Regions from separate parts of the Homo sapiens genome. Here region 1 is linked to region 2. The links are contacts of gene promoters, found by promoter capture Hi-C in blood cells and fetal thymus (Javierre and others, 2016). All regions are on one chromosome and are shown on one strand. The core of a region is centred on a gene start or on the middle of the fragment in contact, and the rest is flanking DNA. Distances in the headings are between cores, read along the strand shown. Region 1 has its middle 5.3 kb from the start of AICDA. Region 2 holds the start of CLEC6A (C-type lectin domain containing 6A).

Region 1 (4,578 bases), core at 1,349-3,848, 160 kb after region 2:
GTGGTGACCGCATCTGAAATCTACTGTCTTAGAAAATTTCCAGTATACAATTTTTTTTTTTTTTCGAGACAAGAGTCTCACTCTGTTGCCTAGGCTGGTGTGCAGTGGCATGATCTTGGCTCACTGCAGCGTTGACCTCCCGGGCTCAAACAATCCTCCCACCTCAGCCTCCCGAGTAGCTGGGACCACAGCTGCACACTACCACACTGGGCTAATTTTTTTGTTTGTTTTTTTGTACAGGCAGGATCTCACTATGTTGCTCAGTTAGGTCTTGAACTCCTGGGCTCAAACAATGCTCCCATCTCAGCCAAAGTGCTGTGATTACAGGTGTGAGCCACTGTGCCTGGCCCAATACAATCTTTTTTAACTGTAGTCATCATGCTGTACAATAGAGCTCTAGACTTATTAATCCTGTATAACTGCAACTTTGTACCATTTGAGCAACATCTTCCCATTTTCCCTACCTCCCCATGCCTGCTAACCACCATTTTACTTTCTTTCTTTCTTATTTTATTTTTTTTTTTTTTTTGAGACGGAGTCTCACTCTGTTGCCCAGGCTGGAGTGCAATGGTGTGATCTCGGCTCACTGCAACCTCCGCCTCCTGGGTTCAAAGGATTCTCCTGCCTCAGCCTCCCAATTAGCTGGAATTCCAAGCATGCACCACCACGCCCAGCTGATTTTTGTATTTTTAGTAGAGACGGGGGTTTCACCATGTTGGCCAGGCTGGTCTCGAACTCCTGGCCTCAAGTGATCCACCCACCTCGGCCTCCCAAAGTGCTGAGATTACAGGCGTGAGCCACTGTGGCTGGCTCACCATTTTACTTTCTGCTTCTATGTGTTCAACTTTTTAAGATTCCACATATAAGTGAGATTATGCAGTATTTTTCTTTCTGTGTCTGGCTTATTTCACCAAGCATAATGTCCTCCAGATTTATCAATGTTGTTGCAAATGGCAAGATCTCCTTTCTTAAGGCAGAATGATATTCTTATTCTGATATATATATACGTGCCACATTTTCTTGATCCATTCATCTGTCGACAGACACGTAGGTTGTCTCCATATCTTGGCTATTGTGAATAGCGCAGCAGTGGACATGGAGTTATCTCTTCAAGGCACTGATTTTGTTTTCTTTGGGTATTTACCCAGAAGCAGGATTGCTCAATATGGTAGTTCTGTATTAAAATTTTTGAGGATCATATAGTAGTTCTAGTTTTAGTTTTTTTTTTTTGGAGAAACCTCCATACTGTTCCCTATAACGGCTGTGCCAATTTACATTCCCACCAACAGTGTACAAAGGTTCCTTTCGCTCCACATTCTCACCAACGCTTGTTTTCTTTTGTCTTTATGGTAATAGCCATTCTAACAGGTGTGAGGTTAAGAGATAGGAAAAAATAAAAATGTAAAATGCAAACCCAATAATAGGGGCCAGGTGTGGTGGCTCACATCTGTAATCCCAGCACTTTGGAAGGCCGAGGCAGGCAGATCACCTGAGGTCAGGAGTTCGAGATCAGCCTGGCCAACATGGTGAAACCCCGTCTCTACTGAAAAAAAAAAATACAAAAATAAGCCAGTTGTGGTGGCAGGCAACTGTAATCCCAGCTACTCGGGAGGCTGAGGCAGGAGAATTGCTTGAACCCGGGAGGTGGAGGTTGCAGTGAGCAGAGATCGTGCCACTGCACTCCAGCCTGGGAGACAGAGTGAGACTCCGTCTTAAAAAAAAAAAAAAAGAAAAAGAAAGCATATAATAGGAAGAACTGACTATTTTTTCTTCCACCTTCACATACCACTCAACACAGCCCTTCTGACACCAGATGTGTGCCGGTCTTTTCCCATACACCAAGCAGTTTTCCAGTGGACATCAACTGGGTGTTCTATAATTTAATTCAATTCTGGCATTATCTACCTGGAGATAGCATCAGACCTCACAGATTGTGGGTCAGTCCCACAAGATGGACCCCACTTCAGATGCCAATCTCAAATTTCAGGTTGTGACCTGTACTTCTGATCAACTGGCTTAGGGGTTCCTACAACCCATGCCTTGGGTTCCATTAATTTGCTAAGCTGGCTTAGCAAACTCGGGGAAACACTTACTTAACTTTTAGCAGTTTATTATGCTAATAAAGGATATAATAAAGCATACAAGCCAGGTGTGGTGGTGCATGCCTGTAATCCCAGCACTCCGGAAGGCCAAGGTGGGCAGATCACTTCGGGCCAGGAGTTTGAGACCAGTCTGGCCAGCATGATGAAACTTCCATCTCTACTAAAAAAACACAAAAATTAGTTGGGCATGGTGGCTCACACCTATAGTCCCAGCTACTCAGGATGCTGAAGCATGAGAATCGCTTGAACTCAGGAGGCAGAGGTTGCAGTAGCTGAGATCGCACCACTGCACTCCAGCCTGGGTGACAGAGCGAGATTCTGTCTCAAAAAAAAAAAAAGTTACGTATGAACAGCTCGATGAAAGTACAGAGGGTAAGAACGGGAGGGGTCTGAGCACAGAAGCTTCTGTCCCCTGGAGTTGGGGTGTGCCACCCTCCTGCTACACAGATATATTTACCAACTCAGAAGCTCTTTGAACTCCATACTTCAGGGATTTTTATGGAGACTTGATCATGTAGGCACGATTAATTATTTACTCTATTCCCAGCCCCTCTCGTCTCTCGGGAGAATGGGGAGTGGGGCTGAAAATTCCAAGCTTCTAGTCATGACTTGGTCTTTCTGGGGACTGGCACCTCTCCTAGAGCCTACCAGGAGTCATCTCATTAGAACAAAACAAACTCCTGTCATCCAGAAATTCCAAGCTATTCGAAAGCTCTGTGTCAGATGCTCTTATCACTCAGGAAATTCTCAGGGCTTTAGGAAATCTGTGCCAGGAACCAGGGGCAGAGACCAAATATATATTATTCTTATTATTTCACAGAGATGATATCTCACTGTGATTTTGATTTGTATTTCCCTCATGATTACCGTGTTAAGCACATTTTCATACACTTGTTGGACAATTGTATGTCTTCTTTTGAGAAATGTCTATTCAGGTCCTCTGTCCATTTTTAATTGGGTTATTTATGTGAGAATAAATATGATTTAAAAGCTGTTCGTGGACCAGGCGCGGTGGCTCACGCCTATAATCTCAGCACTTTGGGAGGCTGAGGTGGGCAGATCACTTGAGGTCAGGAGTTCGAGACCAGCCTGGCCAACATGGTGAAACCTCATCTCTACTAAACATACAAAAATTAGCTGGGTGTGGTGGCGCATACCTGTAATCCCAGTTACTCGAGAGGCTGCGGCAGAATTGCTTGAACCCAGGAGGCGGAGGTTGCAGTATGCTGAGATCACACCATTATACTCCAGCCTGGGCGACAAGAGTGAAACTCCATCTCAAAAAAATTTTAAAAAGCTGTTGGAACCCCAGAAACACTGTAAGCCTTGAGAGAGATGTGACTGTGATCTGAGTCACATATGGTTGCAACATCTGCTTCTCAAGTTATAGACTAACCCACTTCCTTATTTTTCTTGTCCTGTACAGTAACTAGAGAAAATTAAATGACCTCAAGGACAAAAACCTCCTGCCTTGTTAATTAATGACCCTTATCATAGATTAACTTCTCCTTTGTCGTCTTGCTTTGCCTAGACCAGATGACAGAAAACATATGACTATTACAACATCTGCAAAAGATGCTATATGTACCCTTCCCAAAAAGAAACACTGCCTATAATCAATCAAATTGTTATAACTATGCACCAACCTTGTATGAAAAATGCTGTAAGTGTGCATAAACTCCTGTGTCTCTGCCTATATAAATGATACTTTAACTTCCCTAGTTCAGAACACTGACTCCATTTCCTTAGAGTTGGTGTTTCTGAATGGACTGTCTTCAAACTTTGTCCTTGAATAAACTTTATTTAAATTAGATTCTGACCCTTTTGATTATTTTAGGTTGACATTTTTTTTTGGTACTAAGTTGTATGAATTCCTTATATATTTTGGATATTAAACCCCTGTCTACCTTTTTTTCCTTTTTGAAACAGGGTCTCGCTCTGTCACCCAGGCTGGAGTCCAGTGATGCAATCACAGCTCACTGCAGCCTTGACCTCCCAGGCTCAAACAATCCTCCTGCCTCAGCCTCCCGAGTAGCTGGGACTACAGACACAAGCCACCATGCCCAGATGATTTTTATACTTTTTTTGTAGGAATAGAGGCCTCACTTTGTTGCCCAGGCTGACCTTAAACTCCTTGGCTCAAGTGATCCTCCTGCCTCAGCTTCCCAAAGTTCTGGGATTATATGGCATTAGCCACTGCACCTGGCCGGACATTAACCCCTTCATCAGATATATGATTAGCAAATATTTTCTTCTAACCTATAGGTTGCCTTTTCATGTTGATGATTGTTTTCTTTGCTGTGTAGAAGCTTTTCAGTTTGATTTAGTCCCACTTTTTATTTATGCTTTTATTGCCTATTCTTTCGGTGTCATAGCCAAAAACATCATTGCCAAGGCCAACGTCAAGAAGCTGCCCATTCCCACTCCCATTTTCTTCTAGTAGTTTTACGGTTTCAGGCCTTATTTAAGTCCTTAA
Region 2 (4,426 bases), core at 174-2,673:
ACTGACCTGGATGAGATTGGAGACTATTATCCTAAGTGAAGTAACTCAGGAATGGAAAACCAAACATCATATGTTCTCAATGATATGGGGAGCTAAGCTACGATGACACAAAATGTATAAGAATGGTACAATGGACTTTGGGGACTTGGGGGGAAGAGTGGGAGGGGGATGAGGGATAAAATATTACAAATATGGTGCAGGGTATGCTGCTTGGGTGATGGGTGCACAAAAATCTCACAAATCACCACTAAAAACCTTACTCATGTAACCAAATACCACCTGTACCTCAATAACTTATGGAAAAATAAAAATTAAAAAAAGAATGAATCAGGAGAGGGAGTGAATTAAAAAGTTACTCATCAGTAAATTATCATTGGTTTACAGAAACCACATTGATTAGTAATTAGCTGTATACTGTTAAATTTTAGGGTTCAGTTAGTCTAGAACCTACATAGCAAATGGCTTCAAGAGGTAAATTTCGTGCAAGGTGGCAGTGAGGCATGACTCCTGTCATATCTCTCTCATGAGTCCACTCTGGACTTGATAGTTTCAAGGCACTCACATTCCTCAAATAACAGTTTTTTTTTTTTTTCGTTCTCAGCACTCCATAGATTTATGGCTGTTTGTTAACATACTATTTAAGCAAGGCCTGTAAGCCACTGCCATGAAAGAGATAAATACATTTGAACTGAGTTCTCTCCTGAGTGATGGGTATAACACACATTGATAAACTGCTGCTTTTTCTCTTGTTTCTCTGCCTTTTGTTTTCAGGACAGTGTCTCTACTAAGAATCTATGAGGACAAGAAAACATCATATATTTTCTGTGCTACAATATAAAATTCATGAAGCCTGTTTCTGATTTTATATCACTTCAGGCTCCCTTTTGCCTAATCAGGGAGATTACAAAATATCACTGACATCTGCCCAATATTAGTCTGGATGCAGTAAGAATGTTTCATCACCTTTGCAGACTGATTTCAGAATGTTTCATTTTGCAGTCACATTCCTTAACAATGTTCATGGGTTTTGTTATTTACTATGTTACCCTTCATATCTAAACCATATCCATCCAATCAAACTTTTGCTTACTACCTAGGACACTGTTCAACACATGGATTAAGGCTTGCATAAAATAAGCAGCCAATGTAAAGGTTAGTTAGGGAGCACTTAATTTAACCAAGTTCTCTAAATAGATGTCTTTTAGGAGATAAAAAATTTTCTATTTTGCATGCCAGAATGAATAGGAATCAGACAGAGAAATTTTATGTTAGAAACTGAAGAAATGATCTAAGTATTCTTGTCAAAGTTCTCATGAATGGTTTTCAATGTTTCTCAATTCCTCTTTTGTTTTTTTTAACCCCACGTATCGAAATCACTGGAAACTTTAGTTGTAATTGTGACTTCTTCTTTTGAGGTACACTTAATGTTGGAAGTCTCTTAGTCCTATAAGAGTGTGTAGCAGTTTGTCCCTGAGCTCTAGCTTCTTTAAATGAAGCTGAGTCTCTGGGCAACATCTTTAGGGAGAGAGGTACAAAAGGTTCCTGGACCTTCTCAACACAGGGAGCCTGCATAATGATGCAAGAGCAGCAACCTCAAAGTACAGGTGAGTATTTCCTCAGTTTCAGAGGAAAGTGGAAGTGTATGGTGAAATGAGATCACCTGGAGAGAAGAAGTAGCCAAAGAACAGATTGAAGAGCTAGTGATTGGACCAATATAGTAGACTCAAAGGAATTTGAAAGAAAGAGTAATTCTTCAGAGCCAGAGCCATAAGCACTTGAAAGAATAAGAAAGCAAATATTTTTTGGGAGGTTTGTACCAGATTTTATTGATAGTTTAGGGAGACAGAAAAGATTTACATGATAGAAGGTAAACAGGGAAATAACTGATTATTGGATGTCTGCTCTTCAAAGTCTTTTGACTAATTTTGAAATCCAGGAAGCAGTACTCTTTCCAATTACCCTAAGTTTTTTTGTACTTGCTTTTCTAATTTTTTTGTAAGAGAAAAGCTTCCCATTTTTAATGCATGAAAATTTGACTTTAGCTTCAACCCTTTGCATGTCCATCAATAATGTTTTAAAAAAATTTTTATTAAAATTTTTTATGGATACAAAATAGTTGTGCATGTTTATGGGCTCCATGTCATATTTTGACACAAGAATATGATGCGTAATGGTAAAGTCTGGAAAATTACATTATCCATCACCTCAAATATTTATCATGTCTTTGTGTTTGGAACATTCCAAATCTACTCTTCTAGCTATTTTGACATATGCAATAAATTATTGTTGGGTTAGGCTCAGTGGCTCACACCTGTAATCTCAGCACTTTGGGAGGCTGAGGTGGGTGGATCACTTGAGGTCAGGAGTTAGAGACCAGCCTGGCCAACATGGTGAAATCCCGTCTCTAATAAAAAGACAAAACTTAGCTGGGCATGGTGGCATGCACCTGTAATCCTAGCCACTCAGGAGGCTGAGGCAGGAGAATCACTTGAACCCAGGAGGTGGAGGTTGCAGGGTGCCAAGATTGCCTCATTGTGCTTCAGCCTGGGTGACAGAGTGAGACTCCATGTCAAAAAAAAAAAAAAGTTAACTACAGTTATCCTGCTGTGCTAAGGGACACTAGATTTTATTTCTTCTAGCTAATTGTATTTTTGTAGGTACGAAACAACCCTTCTCTATCTTCTCTTCCCAGTTAACCTTCCTGGCCTCTGGTAACCACCATTCTATTCACTACCTCCATGAGATCAATTTTTTTAACTCCCACATATGAGTCAGAATATGCAATGTTTGTCTTTCTGTGCCTGGCTCATTTCACTTAACACGATGTCCTCTGGTTCCATCTGTGCTGTTGCAAATGGCAGGATTTTATTCTTTTTTATGGTGGAATAATATGCCATTGTATATATTATACTACATTTTCTTTATCCATTCATCTGTTGATGGACACTTAGGTTGCTTTCATATCTTGGCTACTGTGAATAGTGCTACAATAAACATGGGAGTGCAGATATCTCTTGGATATACTGAAGAAACCAAATATCAATACAGAGATATGAGAAATGGGAGACAAAAGTGATGTTTTGAGAAACGAAATCAATGGAAACATGTAATAGTTTAGAAGAAAGAATAAAGACATGGAAATTCCAGTTGGTTGAGTGTATGTTTTACCTGTATTCTTTTGGACCACAGAGCTACTACCTGGTTATTTATTCTGAGGGAGTTTGTAAGCTGTCTTCTTGCTTTAAGTTTTTAACTGCTCTGAGGTTCTTCATCTAGTTTGTTCATTGTTGTAAGCTTCCTGGGGATTTTGGCTCCCTGGCCCCCTGGTAACTGCATTTGTTGTCTTCCTGATTGGACAGAGAAAAGAGGCTGGTTGTCCCTGAGACTCTGGTCTGTGGCTGGGATTTCCATTGCACTCCTCAGTGCTTGCTTCATTGTGAGCTGTGTAGGTAAGTTCTTCACTGAGGTGCATTTTCCTTGCTTCCTTTCCCTTGAATATTCCATACAGGTTTCCTAGGATATATTCTCCTTTGCCCCATTAATACGTCAGCTCTTACTTGGAATGCCACACTTTCCTTGATTTCTCCTTTTCCCTTTGTTTTTCTCCCTCTATCTTTTGAAAACTGAATTCTTGTAGATGTACTTTACCTGGTTTTATTAGCATTTTCTGAATCATGGCCTCACATATCCATGTTGTCCATTGTAGCCATCATCTAAGACACCATCTTTCAGGACTGGATTCACTAGTAATTGTGTGTTCCCTGGTGACAAAACTCTTGTATTGGGAGTGCAACTCTAATTGCTGTCATAATTGTCATATTCTATATTAGATTCTTTGATTCATGTGCAGATCCTTTCCAATGTGAGAGGAAAAAGTATTCAAATGAAATGATGGAGATAAAGAGGATAAAATATTTCTTCCCTGTTCTGCTTGCCTCCAAATACATGTCTCAAGTTCATTGTGTGAGAAGTCTTAAAGACCTTTTTCCTCTCCGATTCACAATTTGGATTTCTATTCATTGATAAGGTGATTAAAAATGGGTATTGAATAGTCTGGGAGGGAGTGAAAGTGACTTCCCCTGTCAATCAGGTTGTAGCTATAGTTCCCTCAGAGATTTAAATAAATCTCACAATATTTAGTAAAATACAAATAATTATCACCAAAGTTAGAATCTGTTTTACTTTTCATAATCAAGTGCAAGAGAGAAGGGGGTTTAAGAATAGTTATTTCATAAAAAGAAACACAAATTCAGGATCTCAAAACATGAACTAAGAGCGGGGCAGAAAGATTTGGTTGTATTGAGCTCTAGTTATAGAAGGACAAAAAAGAAATGAGTGAAGAATCAGATCAGATCCTGAGAGATAAAAGGTCTTGCTGAAAGTGAACATTAACATAAAAGTTAATGTTCATTTGAGACATTAAAAA

What was found. The method cuts DNA at HindIII sites, captures the fragments that hold promoters and counts their contacts. A CHiCAGO score of 5 or more calls a contact.
Region 1: a contact is called between a fragment that was not itself captured here and the fragment with the promoter of CLEC6A in region 2, in 3 of 17 cell types (M1 macrophages, M0 macrophages and monocytes). The highest score is 7.8, in M1 macrophages.

The regions. Positions count from the first base shown.
Region 1 is chr12:8,615,832-8,620,409 of GRCh38, forward strand. No RefSeq gene overlaps it. Among named protein-coding and RNA genes, the nearest start is that of AICDA, 5.3 kb to the left of the region's middle. The HindIII fragment of the contact is 193 bases long and covers 2,503-2,695 here.
Region 2 is chr12:8,454,539-8,458,964 of GRCh38, forward strand. It overlaps CLEC6A (C-type lectin domain containing 6A), which reads left to right and starts at 1,424. Exons shown (of 6, transcript NM_001007033.2): 1 at 1,424-1,604; 2 at 3,360-3,449. The coding sequence starts at 1,574. The HindIII fragment of the contact is 4,980 bases long and covers 1-2,005 here.